Regions from separate parts of the Homo sapiens genome. Here region 1 is linked to region 2. The links are contacts of gene promoters, found by promoter capture Hi-C in human tissues and cell types (Jung and others, 2019). All regions are on one chromosome and are shown on one strand. Each heading gives the region's core, a stretch centred on a gene start or on the middle of the fragment in contact. The rest is flanking DNA. Distances are from core to core; before and after follow the strand shown. Region 1 overlaps SCN8A (sodium voltage-gated channel alpha subunit 8). Region 2 holds the start of SCN8A (sodium voltage-gated channel alpha subunit 8).

Evidence for each region. Contacts are between HindIII fragments. The study calls those that stand out against the background at their distance.
Region 1: a contact is called between a fragment that was not itself captured here and the fragment with the promoter of SCN8A in region 2, in 1 of the 25 tissues and cell types used here (H1 embryonic stem cells).

The regions. Positions count from the first base shown.
Region 1 is chr12:51,652,874-51,659,872 of GRCh38, reverse strand. All of the region lies in intron 1 of SCN8A (sodium voltage-gated channel alpha subunit 8), which reads right to left. Among named protein-coding and RNA genes, the nearest start is that of SCN8A, 65 kb to the right of the region's middle. The HindIII fragment of the contact is 4,254 bases long and covers 3,010-6,999 here.
Region 2 is chr12:51,589,258-51,596,790 of GRCh38, reverse strand. SCN8A (sodium voltage-gated channel alpha subunit 8) reads right to left here and starts at 5,558. Exons shown (of 27, transcript NM_001330260.2): 1 at 5,432-5,558. RefSeq lists a silencer at 5,806-6,055. The HindIII fragment of the contact is 14,911 bases long and covers 1,527-7,533 here.

The DNA of each region.
Region 1 (6,999 bases), core at 3,887-6,386, 64 kb before region 2:
TCTTATTTCTGGACCAGCCATCCAGCATGGAATCTCAGTTATCTCTGCCAAGTCCCCTTTTGCTATCCATACCCAACCAGTCATCAGCCTTTCCAATTGCTCTTCCTTAAGAGCTTCCATTTTCAATAGTATTGCCCTAATTCAGGTCCTACTGCAGTAGTCTCCCCACTAGTGGACCAGCCCTCAGTCCACCAGGCATATTTCCAAGGATCCATTTCCCTAAAAATCTGCTTTCATTAAGTCATTTCCCTCCCTCAAACTTACCAGTTATAGGACAGATTCCAAATTTCTGCCATTTCACTGCCACTCAAGGCATTCTACAACCGTATGCATCATAAACATTCTCTTCTATGGCTTCTCTGCAAGAACACCTGCGCTGGTAACTGTATTCTGAGTTTTAAATTTTTTGAAGGTATAATACAATAAAGCAATAAAGTATGCAAACCTTAAGTGCACAGCTTATTTTGTACATATGTATGTGCCTGTGTAACCACCACTGAAATCAAGATGTAGAAAATTTACTTTCAGCATCCCAGACAGCTCTCATGAGCCATCAATAACCACCCCTAGCAAAAGCTATTCTGACAGTTATCACCATATATTAGTTTTGCTTCTACCTGAACCTCATATAAGTAGACTATAAACATACTCTTTGGGTTCTGGCTTCTTTCACCCAACACTATTTCTGTGAAATTCATCTTCTTATATGTGTAGCAGTAGTTCATTCTGCATAGTATTCCATGTATGAATGTAGTACAATTTATCCATTCTACCTTGATGGGCATCTAAGTTGTTTATAGTTTTAAGCTATTATGAATAAAAGCTGCTAAGAGCCTTCTTGTAGGTGTCTTTTGGTAGCCATACCTTTATTTCTTTTTGGCATATAGCTAGGAGTGGAATGCTGGGTCAGAGAATGGCAGATATTTAGCTTTAGTAATATTCCTACCAGCAATATAAGAGGGTTCCAGTTGTTCCAAATCCTCATCAACACTTGGAATGACAGTCTTCTGAATTTTACCCACTCTGGTGGGTATAGCAGCATCTCGTATTTTTTAAAAAAGTAATTTATTGGGATGAAATTTACATAACATAAAATTAACCACTTTAAGGTGAACAATTCAGTGGCAATTAGTACATTCACACTACCAGTTATCTAGTTCTAAAACATAAGCAGTTTCTCTCCATTCCCAACCTTCAGCCTCCACCCTTTGCCATCAGCTCCTAGTAACTATCAGTCTTCATTCTCTCTCTACTGATTTATCTATTCTAGATGTTTCATATAAATGGACTCACACAATATGTGAGCCTTTGTGTCTGACTTCTTTCACTTAGCATAGTGTTCTCAAGGCTCATCCATAATGTAGCATGTATCAGTACTTCATTCCTTTCTATGGTATTTCATGCAGGGTACAGAATCAACGTACAAAAATCAGTAGCATTTCTATACATCCACAACAAACTAGCAGAAAAAGATATCAAGAAAGCAATCCCAATTATAATAGCCACCAAAAAAATAGTAAGACCTAGGAATAAATTTAACCAGGAAGGTGAAAGATCTCCCCAGGAAAACTAAAACACTGATGAAAAATCAAAGATCACGAAAAAAAGTGGAAAGACATCCCATGTTCATGAACTGCAAGAATTAATATTGTGAAAATAACCATACTACCAAAAGCCATCTACAGGTTCAATACAATCCTTATCAAAATACCAATGAAATTATTCACAGAAATAGAAAAAACAATCCTAAAATTTCTATGGAACCACAAAAGACCTTGAAAAGCCAAAGTAATCCTGAGCAAAAGGAACAAAGCTGGAGTTATCACACTATTGGATTTCAAAATATACTACAAAGATACAGTATCCAGAACAACATGGTATTAGCATAAAAAGACACACAGACCAATGGAAAAGAATAGAAAACACAGAATTAAATCCACATATTAATAGCCAACTGAATTTTGACAAAGGCACCAAGAACATTCATTGGGGAGGGATAATTTCTTCAATAAATGGTGCCGGGAAAACTGGATAACCATATGCAGAAGAATGAAACTGGAACCCTATCTCTCACCACATACAAAAATCAACTCAAAATGAATTAAGGACTTACATGTAAGTATGAAACTACTAGAAGAAAACATAGGAGAAACACTTCAGGACATTGGTCTGGGCAAAGATTTTATGGAGAAGACCTCAAAAGCACAGGAAACACAGGCAAAAATAGACAAATGGGATTATATCAAACTAAAAAGCTTCTGCACAGCAAAGGAAACAATCAGCAGAGTGAAGAGACAACCAGTAGAATGGGAGAAAATATTTGTGAACTATTCCTCTGACAAGGGATTAATATCCAGAATATATAAGGAACTCAAACAACAGCAAAAGACTAAATAATTCAATTAAAACATAGGCAAATGAACTGAATAGGCATCTCTCAAAACAAGACATATAAATGGCCAAAACGTATATGTAAAAATGCTCATCACTTATCATCAGGGAAACGCTAGAAAAGTGGATTTTGAAAAGTGGATTAAATTGCTAGAAAAGTGGATTTTGAATGTTCCTAATACAAAGAAATGATAAATATTTGAGATGGATATGCCAATTACCCTAATTTGATCATTACACACATTGTATACATGTATCAAAATATCACACTGTACCACATATTATGTGCCAATTAAAAATAACAATAAAACCAAAAAAACCCCAAAATATATATCCCAGAAATGTATATACCACAATTTGTTTACACATTCATCTGTTGATGGACATTGAATTCTTTCTACCTTTCGACTACTATGAACAGTGCACACACATGTACTTATTTTAGTACCTATTTTCAATTCCTTTGAGTCTATACCTAGGAGTGGAATTGGTAATTCTACATTTAACTTTTTTGAGGAACTGCCAAACTGTTTTCCTGAACTATTTTGCATTTTGTGGCTGAACCATTTTGTATTCCCAACAGCAATATAAGAAGGTTACAATTTCTCCATATCCTTGCCAACACTTGTTACTTTCCTTTTTCTTACCTTTTTTTTTTAATTGCTGCCATCCTAATGGGTGTAAAGTGGTACCTCACTGTGGTTTTGATTTGCACTTCCCTAATGATACTGATGCATTTTCTCATGTTTGTTGGCTCACTCTTGTCTAAATTTGTATTTGTCTGATGATACTGAGCACTTTCTCAAAGGTTGATTGGCCATTTAGACATCCTCCTTTGTGAAGTGCTGATTTAAGTCTTTGCTCACTTTTTCCTATTGGGTTAAACTGCATTTTTCTTACTAGTTTGTAGGAGTTCTTTGTGTATTCTCCATTGAAGTCATTTGTCAGATATAATATTTCAAATATTTCCTCTCTTTCACCTGTCTTAATGGTGTCATTTGATAAACTGTAGTTCTTAATTTAATTGAAATCCAATCTATCAGTCTTTTCCTTCATGTTAGTACTTTTTTATTCTAGGAAATCTGTGCCTATTCCAAGGCCATGTAGGTATTCTCCTTTGTTTTACAATCTTTATTATTTTACCTTTCTCATTTAGTTTTGAAAACCATATGAACTGATTTTTACATATGGTGTGAAGTGGAGGACAAGGTTCATTTTTTTCCTGTGGTTATATAATTGACCCAGCATCACTTAATAAAATGTCTGGTCACTGTTACTTTCACTGACTCCTAAAAATATTTTCATTTCCTTATTTTAAACCTCCTGACATCTTTCTTTCTTACCTAAGTTCTATTCATCCATTAAAACAAGCTTAAATGTCTTCTGTTTCTGAGGAAGTCATCTTGCACAGTAACAAACTTGTTAGATTTAGAAGGAACTTAGAGACCACCTAGTTCAATTTGCTTCATCCATAAGTTATATAAGAGAGGCTGAATTGTCTAACTGCCAATTAGTGACAGATGCAAAGCTATGACCCACATTTCTTGGCTTCCAATATAATGTTCTTTTCACTAAAACACCCAATCTCTAAGTCAATGACCTTGTCCATCATACCACTACTATATCATTGTGCATCTTCCTGCAGTGCTAAAGATGACACAGGCAGCCCAGATGATAAAGCAACAACAAAAGCAACTTTTGGCTCTGGCAGTTCTAAAAGAGATTGAACTAGACTCAAAGATACGGACAAACAAATGGGTAGAGCTCTCTTCTTTTGGTTGTCCAGGAGGATTAAGACCTTAAAATGCAACCAGCCACAGTGACTCATGCCTGTAATCCTAGTGCTTTGGGAGGCTTAGATGGGAAGATCGCTTGAGGCCAGAAGTTTGATACCAGCCTGGGCAACATAGGAAGATACCATCTCTACAAAAAGTAAAAAAATTTATCTGGGTCCCCCTGGTGGTCCCAGCTGCTGGGGAGGCTGAGATGGGAGGATCACTTGAGCCCAGGAGTTAGAAGCTACAGTGAACCATGATGGTGCCACTGCACTACAGCCTGGGTGACACAACTCTTGTGTCTAAACCTGTCTCTAAAAAAGAAAAAAAAAAAAGACCTTAAAATGCCAACTGTGGCCTGAAAACAAACAAAGTAGAATCCAAATTAAGGGATACGGCATGAAAGAGGAAAAGAAAACCAGTATTGAAATGCGGTTATAACAGGAATGAAAGGAAGAGAAGTCATCTAGGAGGGGCTGTTAAAGCAAACACTCCAGGGCCAGGTGCAGTAGCTCATGCCTTACAAAGTGCTGTAATCCCAGCACTATGGGGGGCTGAGCCAGGCAGATCATTTGAGGCCAGGAGTTCGAAACCAGCCTGGCCGACACAGCAAAAACCCATCTGTACTAAAAATACAAAAATTAGCTGGGCGTGGTGTACATGCCTGTAATCCAAACTACTTGGGTAGCTAAAGCACCAGAATCGCTTGAACCTGGGAGGTGGAGGTTGCAGTGAGCTGAGATCATGCTACTGCACTCCAGCCTGGGTGACAGAGTGAGTCTCTGTCTCAATAAATACATAAATAAAGCAAACACTTTATGCTAGAACACACAAAAAAATATGTTGGAAGGAAGATCAAATAAAAGGTAGCAAGTAGCACTAAGGTCTTGTCTCAGGCTGGGTGCAGTGGCTCACACTTGCAATCTCAGCATTTTGGGAGGCCAAAGCAGGAAGACTGCTTGAGGCCAGGTGTTCAAGGCCAGCCTGGTCAACTATAGTGAGACCCCATATCTACAAAAGATTTAAGGGGAAAATTAAAAAGATCTTGTCTCATACTTGAAAAAAAACAAAGTTGGAGGACTCACATTTCCTGATATCAAAACTTACTGCAAATCTATAGTAATCAAAACAATGTGGTACTGGCATAAAGACAGACATATAGACTAATGGAATAGATTAAAGAGCCCAGAAATAAACCCTCACATATATGGTCAAATGATTTTTGACAAGGGAACCAAGACCATTCAATGGGGAAAACAATCTTTTTAACAAATGTTGCTGGCAAAACTGGATATTCACTTGCAAAAGAACGAAGTTGGATCCTTACCTTATACCATACACAAAAATTAACTCAAAATGGATCAAAGACCTAAATGTCAGAGCTAAAACTATAAAACTCTTAGAAGAAAATATAGAGGAAAAGCTTCATAACATTGGATCTGTCAATGATTTCTTAGACATGACACCAAAAGCATAGGCAATAAAAGAAAAAATAGATAAATGGAACTTTATTAAAATGAAAAGCTTTTGTTGCTCAAAGGATACTATCAAGAGAGTGAAAGGGCAACTCAGAGAATGAGAGAAAATATTTGCAAATTGTATCTGTGATAGAATTAATACCCAGAATATATAAAGAACTCCTAAAACTCAACAACAACAAAACCCAGTTAAAAATAGACAAAAGACTTGAATAGACTTTTCTCCAAAAACAGATATAAAAATGACCAATAAGCACATGAAAAGATGTTCAGCATCATTAATCATTAGGTAATATGAATCAAAATCACAATTAGATACCACTTCATACCCATTAGGATGTCTAATATTAAAACACAAACAAAATTTCTTACCTAAAAACACATACACACAGAAAATAACAAGTATGGGTGAGGATGTTGAGAAATTCAGACTCTAGTGCTCTGCTGGTGGTAAAGGAAAATGGTGCAGCTGCTATAGAAAACATTACTGCAGTTCCTCAAAAAAATTAAGCATAGGATTACCATAAGATCCAGCAATTCCAAAAGAACTGAAAGCAGGAACTCAAAAAGATATTTGTACACACATGTTCTTAGCAGCATTAGTCACAACTGCCAAAAGGTGGAAACAACCCAAATGTCTATGAGATAAACAAATGGATGAATGAATAAACAAAATGTGAAATATACACATAATGAAATATTTATGTAGCTTAAAAAGGCAAGAAATCCTGACACATGCTACAACATGGAGGAATCTTGAAAAAATGCTAGGTGAAATAAACAAGATACAAAAGGACAAATATTGTATGATTCCACTTATATGAGGTACCAAAAATAGTCAAATGCATAAAGACAGAAAGCAGAATAGGGGTAATCAGGGGCTGTGTGGGAATGAGAAGTTACTATTTAGTTGGTACAGAGTTTCAGTTTGGGATGATGAAAAAGTTTATAAATGATCTCGGCTCACTGCAACCTCCGCCTCCCAGGTTCAAGCAATTCTCCTGTCTCAGCCTCCCAAGTAGCTGGGACTACAGGTGCCTGCCACCACACCCAGCTAATTTTTGTATTTTTAGTAGAGACTGGGTTTCACCTTGTTGGTCAGGCTGGTCTCAAACTCCTGACCTCAGATGATCCACTCACCTCGGCCTCCCAAAGTGCTGGGATTACAGGCGTGAGCCACCTCGCTTGGCCCAGTTTATATATTTAAAAATGGTTATGATGGTAAATGTTATGGATATTTTACTACAATCTTTTTTAAAAGAGAGAAAAAAATTTACTATGCCCCCCAACATATGCCATAAATGATACTCTGATGAATAATAGCTCACTCCTGCCTTCAAAGGACCTTATAGTCT
Region 2 (7,533 bases), core at 4,309-6,808:
CACCAAGATATGACCTTTTTAAAAGTAGCTAGGATAGCCACAGAAGGAACACAAGTGTGTTACTTTGGTGCCTCCTGTTTTCATCCATATTCTACTTATTGATACATCCTCTGTTAATTTCCCCTCATCCTTCCTGCTTCCAAAATGCTTTCCTTCAAAGGCACTTTTGCCCTCCCTCTGTCTATCCCAGAATCTTTCATTATACCCACTCACTAAGATATGTTTAGCTACCTAAGCTAATAATATCTTAAAATAAAACCAAAATTGTTCACATTACTTGGTTATATGAACATCAGAATATAACACCATTTAACAGAAAGAAGTCACTAAACATGAGTCGACCAACCTAGGTACCAGTCTCCACTACACCAGTTAGATAGTCCTTAGCTTGGACAACTTCCTTCATTAAGCTCTTCGATACTCAGTTTCTTCAGCTATAAAGTGGGTAGGATATTTGCTTTACCTCCTTCTCAATCGACTGATAGAAGGATTTTGAAAGTTTTTATAAATAGACAAACACAGAGTAACATTTACCAAAGGTGGCAGGTCACCTATGAGACCCATTCAAATAAAGCAGTTCAAAGACTATACAGTGGGGAAACCTAAAATGGTGCTGAAGACAAAACCAACTCCAAACATGTATAATCACTTACCACAATGTAAAAATCCAGCTCAAGTCAGCATAAAGGCAGGCCTCAGCCTTTGAGTCCATTTCACCTTCAGATCCCAGGCTACAGCTAAAAACAGCCCAGCTGGAGAGTGCCAAAGCATTCCTTTTGGGTAAAGAGTCCTATTCTAGTGTAGTTTGGGAATGGACAAGGCAAGAGGTACTTTGGTAACCACATTTGCACTGTGTTGGTGGAAGCCAGCAGAGCAATTGTACAGTAAAACTTTTCTTAGCAATGTCCATCCAAGTTAGGGTACCTACGGGTTCCATCCTCTATGCCAGACTGAAGATAAAGCATCCGTCTGCTTTTCAGACTACTGAAATTCAATACAGTACATATATACTACGTCAAATACATACATAAATACACATTAAGCTGCTAAATCCCTAGAGGCAAGGGGGCTAATATATATTAAGCACTATGTGTCAGAAACCATAAGGAAACAGAGATTTCATTTAATCCCCACAAATACCCTGCAACGTAGGTATTATTATTCCCACTTTTATAGATAGGAACACTGAAGCTCCAATAGATTAAATAACTTGCCCAAGGTCACAAAGCCAATACATAGCAGAGTCGGGATTTGAATCTAGTTTTGTCTGATTCCAAAGCCCATACTGCTTCTGACATTTTCTTCTCAATAGTGTAACTATAGCAACCTTCTTGGGTTTTCATTTCACCTTAATCTCTAACATAGTACTTAAATATGTGTCCTGGCTGTGTCTCCATAACTTCACAAAGGGATAATTTTTCCAGAAACCTTCTCCTTTGTCTTTTGACTGCATTTACTTCCCATTCTTGCACAAACTATTCTTTTTTAGGTTAAATCACTGGGCTGGCCCTAACAGACTGCCATACATTTCCGCAATTAATAAACTTACAGGGTAAGAGTTCTGTTTCCTTCGACACCTTAATAGCCACAGTTTTTGAGCACAGTATTATTTTTTAAGCGGGTGCTCGCCAGCTTAGAGAGGCATTGTACTAGTGTTCAGTTCAGTGCCTTATATATAGTAGGTGCAGAGTGAGACTATTTGTTGATTCATTGATTAAGAAAAGGTTTATTGATTCCTCAGTTAATGTGCTAAATATAAACAAACAGACTTTACGAGTGAAGTCCAATTCTATGAGTGAATTCTTTCACATTACAGTTTTTTTTGGAACATTTCTAAAGGATTAAGAAAAAGGTAAATTGAGATACAACAATCTGTTTAAGTCCCTAAATGACTAGCAAGTGAACTATAAAATTAAGAGCTTAAAGGGCTCAGTTTTAAAATACTATCATTCTGGATAACTTTACAAGCGCTTCTTTCCCTCTCTATGGGAAAAAAAAAGACTGGAAAAACATAATAAAACACAGATAATTGTTTTGCTTATGGTAGAAGCAAAGATGGTAAGGATGGTAAAACTAAGGATGACTTTTTCCCTGTTTTTACATATATTAAAATTTTTCTGCAATAAGTATGTATTTTTATAATTATGGTAACTGATCTCACTCTGGATATACTTTGGATTTTTAACGCTTTCTATATAGTATAGCTTTAGTGTCCTTAGACATAATCCATAGGAATTAAATATTCATTAATTCAAGCATGTGCCTTCTAGAACAATTTGTTACATAATACCAGCACATTAAAGATAATTATTTTTCTTTCCATTCACAGAATGTTTTTCTTGCTTTAGGTGGACATGTCTCTATTTTTGCATTCTTTTCAAGTAAGTGCAAGTTTCTTGTATGTTCTCTACAGAAAAATGGTTCTCAATCTTTTCTTGGAAACAAGCACAAGAATGGCATTTACCCCGATATAGCTCCAATTTATATGTCTTTCAACTTTATGTATATTACCTTTTCAATGAGATTAAAATACTTTGATCACAGTGGAATCCAAATGGAATGAGCTACGTTATGTGGCAGTAAGTTCCCTACCAACGGATGTATTCAAAGCAAAGATCTCCCATAAAGGAGATTCCTGTATTGGGTGGGAGGTGGTACCATGTGAATTTTATGGCCTCCTTCCTATTTTATGATTTTAAAATAGTTTTTTGGATAAATCGACTTTAGTAATACTGACCTCTGCTGTGTCAAGTGCCTTTCCCAGTTCACTATTCAAATCAACCCACAGAAGACGCTCTCCTGATCCAGTTTAATTTAGCCAGCTATCGGATTACTTCCTGTGGAGACCAAGAATATTAACAGTTGCTTGCTATTTGAAATGACTGAAGTGTGCTGAAATAATGCAGTCAGCAAAATGTCACTTATGGCTTACATATGGATCTGTTGCAGCCTGTAAAACATTGTCTCCATGAGGGACAGCCAAAATGAAGAGTTATGTGGGAGTAATAAAATATGATAACTAGGCCTCAACCTCAAGTACAAACCCAGCTGCGCATGTACATACACATCCACGAGAAAGCCTGCTGATAATAAAAAGCAAAAAAAAACTCAATCATGTCCAGTGTGTGTGCACTTCGCCGCAGAACTGGTCGGGGAACTGTCCTTTCAGCACCACAGCAAGAAACCTGAATACAAGCCTAAACACAGGCAACCCAAAGCTGGACCAGGAGAAAAAATTCTTAAGGGTCCTACAAGGAAAGCAACAGCAACCGTATGGTTGTTTTTAAGGATGCAGTATTCCACTTGATTATCCTTTATTAATTTAAAACAAAATCCTCCAAAGATTTTGATAAAAGTTGACAAAACCCCAAATGAAAACCAAAGCTGCTCAAACTGAAGCCAAGAAACCAATAACTGATCTGCACCATTATGAACTGCTTTGCAATACCCACCACCAGCTCTACTCAGAAACACAACACATTTACATATACCCTGAATCAGATGTTCAGAGAACACGGAACATGCTTGCAGCCCTCTCCAGGGAGGACCTCAATTTCTAGGACAGGGAATGCGTGCTGAACACCAAAGGATCACTACCCACAACCACCACCTCACCAACCAGCAACCAAATCCTCTTTCAGGGAGAAATGAAGGCCTTATGGGTCATGAGCTCCAAAGAAAAATGCTGCAGTATTTCAAGAACCAGGTTACATGTAATGTGCTATAAAGCTTTCAGCATTTTAAGTCTGATTCCCCCAAGATTCCTACCAGGATGGTACCGTGTGGTAATGTTATCCAGCCATTTGCATCACAAATCAAAAAAAAAATTTTTTTTGAGAAAAGAATAAAAGCACAACATCCCCCCCTCCACATCTTCTAATGCACGTGGAGAAAAGAGAAGTGCAGAGGGATTTTGAGACAGTGAAAAACCTACCACACCCGAAATCTCCATTGGAAAGCTAAAACATCCCCCAGCCCTAACACACTGCTACCTCTCTCTAAAGGCTCTCCAGGTTCAAACTTGGGAAAACAGTTATAAAAAGCACTCTCCCCCTTTACCCCCATGGCCCCCACCCACACTTCCTGCTTCCATCCCTGACTCTCTGGTGCCCACTGTGCATAAAAAGCAGTTTTCCTTGTGTGGCAGAGCTTGCTCCATGCTAATTATTTCTCCCTCCCCCTGACTTTAGCCAGATGCAATCCAAAGTTTCTTCTACCCTCCCCCCAAACAGATGACATCCATTTATTATGAACGCTGATGCAGAACCTTGGAATCTCCGGACATAAAATGTATTCCCTCATGCTTCAAAAACTGCAGTGTAAGTGAGGAAGAGGGCATAGGGTGGAGTAGTCGGATGGAATGCATGGTTTGAAGAATCCTATTTATCGGGCTGAAAAATGGTTCCCATTCCATCCCAACTCGAAGCTGGGGCCCCTGAAAGGGTCTGACAGTCCTGGCTAACCCCTGGAAAGTTAGCCAAGTCTCCACCGGTGGTTGTTGCTGGCAATGGAGGGGATGGAGCTGAGCTCTCAGGAGAAACTGCAGAGGCTTTGCGGTGCCCCAAGGTACCAAGTGAGAACTAGAGAGGAGGGTCCAAGCCCACGGAGCTGGGCAAACAGTCCTGTACCCCAACGCTAACAAGAAGCCAAGGGTGCTGCTGCTGATGGTAAGGTGGGGGAGGGAGAGGAGAGGAACAAGCTCTGCATCGGGTGGCGTGGGGGTGGGGGGTGGGGGTGGGGGTGGGATGGGGGAAGGGGATATTCTCAAAGTGATGTGCTTCCAAATGCAGGAATCCTCGCCTGCCGAGGAAGGTCCCGGGAGCCCCCATCACAACTCCAGAGCACCCTGTTGGGAGGGGGACGAACGCATCCGAGTAAAGGACAGAGGGAGTCGGGAGTGCTGGCTGCGGGAAGAACCCAGGAGCCCTTGGCTTCTGCAGTTTTTAGCAGTGTGAAGCCGGCTGAGGGAGAAGGATGCAGTAAGACATGGGGGAGGGGGAGGGCTGAGGGGCTGCTGTAGGAAGATCCCGACAGCGCTGCCCTTCCCAGTGCAAGCCGGCTAGGGGCCCCAACTCTGCCCGGCACTGAGGGAGGGATGGAGGGCTGCACCGCGGAAGGGGCACCAAGGACGGGCCGTGTCCCTCACTGTAGCCGAGACGGAGAAAGCAGGGTGTCCGGGGTGGGGACTGGTGGTCCTCAGTTCTCTTAAGAGACCCCCGGTACACACAGTAGAAGGAAGCAAGAGTTCCAAACACCTGTCCAAAACAAGGAGAGCAGAGCCCCAGCTCCACGGCCCCTGGAGCCCCGCCGCGCACTCTGCGGCAAAGCCCCTGACTGGAGATGGGCGAGCCCCGCTCAAGGGTCCCGAGGCGAGAAGGGAAACCCGGAGGGCAGGAAGCAGCGCTAGGGCGGGGGCTCTGGGGCGACTTACGGCAGCGGCGGCGGCGAGGGAGGCAGCGGCGGCCCTAACGCGGGGCCCGGGAGGCGCGGCCGGACTGCAAAGGCGCCGAGGATGCGGCGGGCGGGACTGCGGTGGGCGCCATCTTGGAGCGCTCCCCGCGCCCGCCCCCCGCACCGCCCGAGTCCTTGCATAATTGATGACTCGCGCCCGCCGCGCGCCACCGCGCGCGCGCCCCTACTGCCGGGCCCCCCGCCCGCCCCGCCCCCGCGCCTACCCCTCCGCGCGCGCCCCCTGCCCGGGCCGGCCCCGGCCCGCAAGCGCCGCTGCCACCGCCCCCGCCCCCTCCCTGCGCTTCGCGCCCGCCCGCCCGCGCCCCCGCGGCCCACCTACCCCTGCAGGGCGCGCCCGCTCGCCCGCTCGCCTGCAGCGCGCCGCCCGCCCGCAGGCTCTCAGACTCGCGTCTCCGCGCCGCCGGGAGCGGATCAGGGGCAAGAGGGAACAGGGCGCCGGCAGGGGGCGCCGCGCGGGAGCGCCAGCGAGCGTCCCCGGGCCCGCCTCCACTACGCCCCCGCCGAGCCGCCGGGAGGGGCCGCGGGCTGAGGACCGGGACCCGCCGCGAGACGCTGGCTGGCTGCTCGCCAGCGCCGGGCGGCGAGACCCGAAAGCTGTCGTGGTGACCCGCGTGCTCTGTGGCCCGCGTCAGTGCCAAGTCTTACCTTTCTCCTGCCCCCCAACAGTGCCGCGCTCAGTGAAGTTTCTGACATCCAAAAGCGCAGGGAACTCAATTTACAGGATCTTGGGCCCACTGAAAAAACGAGAAGTCAATCAGCGGCAGGTGGAGGCTCGTGTTTCAGCCCACAGGGACCTGCTGCCAGGAGCGGGGAGGCGCTGCCTCCCTGACAGCCCCCAGGCCACCTCAGTCTTTCCGATCCTCAGTCTGTCCATCTGTAAAGTAGGCATGAGCATTTCGACCGCTCACTCCACCCTCGCGAGGATCTAGGTAATGAGTGCCAGAGCTCTTGGCACTTTACTGTGTCTCTCCTCTACTTAATATTTTCCTACCACCAATCACAAGAGGGAAAAAGGGTGTAACAACCTCTCCAAACCTCAGTGTTCTCGTCTGTAAAAGGAAACAGTCACAGTAGCAACCTTATAAACTTCTTGTTTGTACTAACGGGGAGCATGCACTTCACACATTGCTAACACAGCCAGGCACATGGTATGCTTATCACATAATGTGCCCTCTACAATACATTTAAAATTAGCTTTACTGGGGTATATTTGCGTGTGTTTAGATTGTACAATTTTGAGTTATGTGTGCACTCATGAAACCATCACCACCAAGGTAATGAACACACCCATCACCTCCAAAAATTTCTCCGTGTGCTTCTTTGTAATCACTCCCTGCATCGCTCGCCCCCACACACCCTCTCCAGGCAACCACTGATCTTCTTTCTATTACTGTACATTGGTTTGCATTTTCCGGAATTTTAAATAAATGGAATCATACAGTACAAACTCTCTTTTTTGTATGGCTTCTTCCACTCGGCATAATCGTTTTGAGATTATTCAGTCGTTGCCTATCAAGAGTTCTTTTTTACTGCTTAGTAGTATTCTTTATGGGGATACACCACAATGTGTTTATCCAGTCACCTGTTGATGACATTTAGGTTATTTCCAATGTTTGTCCGTTACGAACAAAGCTGTTATGAGCTTTCGTGTGCAGGTCTTTGTATGGATATATATGCTTTCGTTTCTCGTGGGTATAAATATCTAGGAATGGAATAACTGAGTCCTGTCTTAGGTGTATATTTAACATATTAAGAAAGGGCCAAACTGCCTTCCAAAGTGGTTGTGCCTTTCCATTCCTACTAGCAGCACATGAATTTCAGTTGTTCTACATCCTCACCAACATTTGGAGTGATCAGTCTTTTTAATTTTAGCCATTTGAATAGATGTGTAGTTTTATCTCGCTGTGGGTCTGTCGTCCATTTCACTAGTGACTAAAGATGTTGAACATCTTTTCATGGACTTGTCATCTGTAAATCCTCCTGGCGAAGTGTCTCTTCAAGTCTTTAGCCTATTTAAAAATTGGTGGGGTTTTTTCTTGTTAATTGAGTTTTACGAGTTGT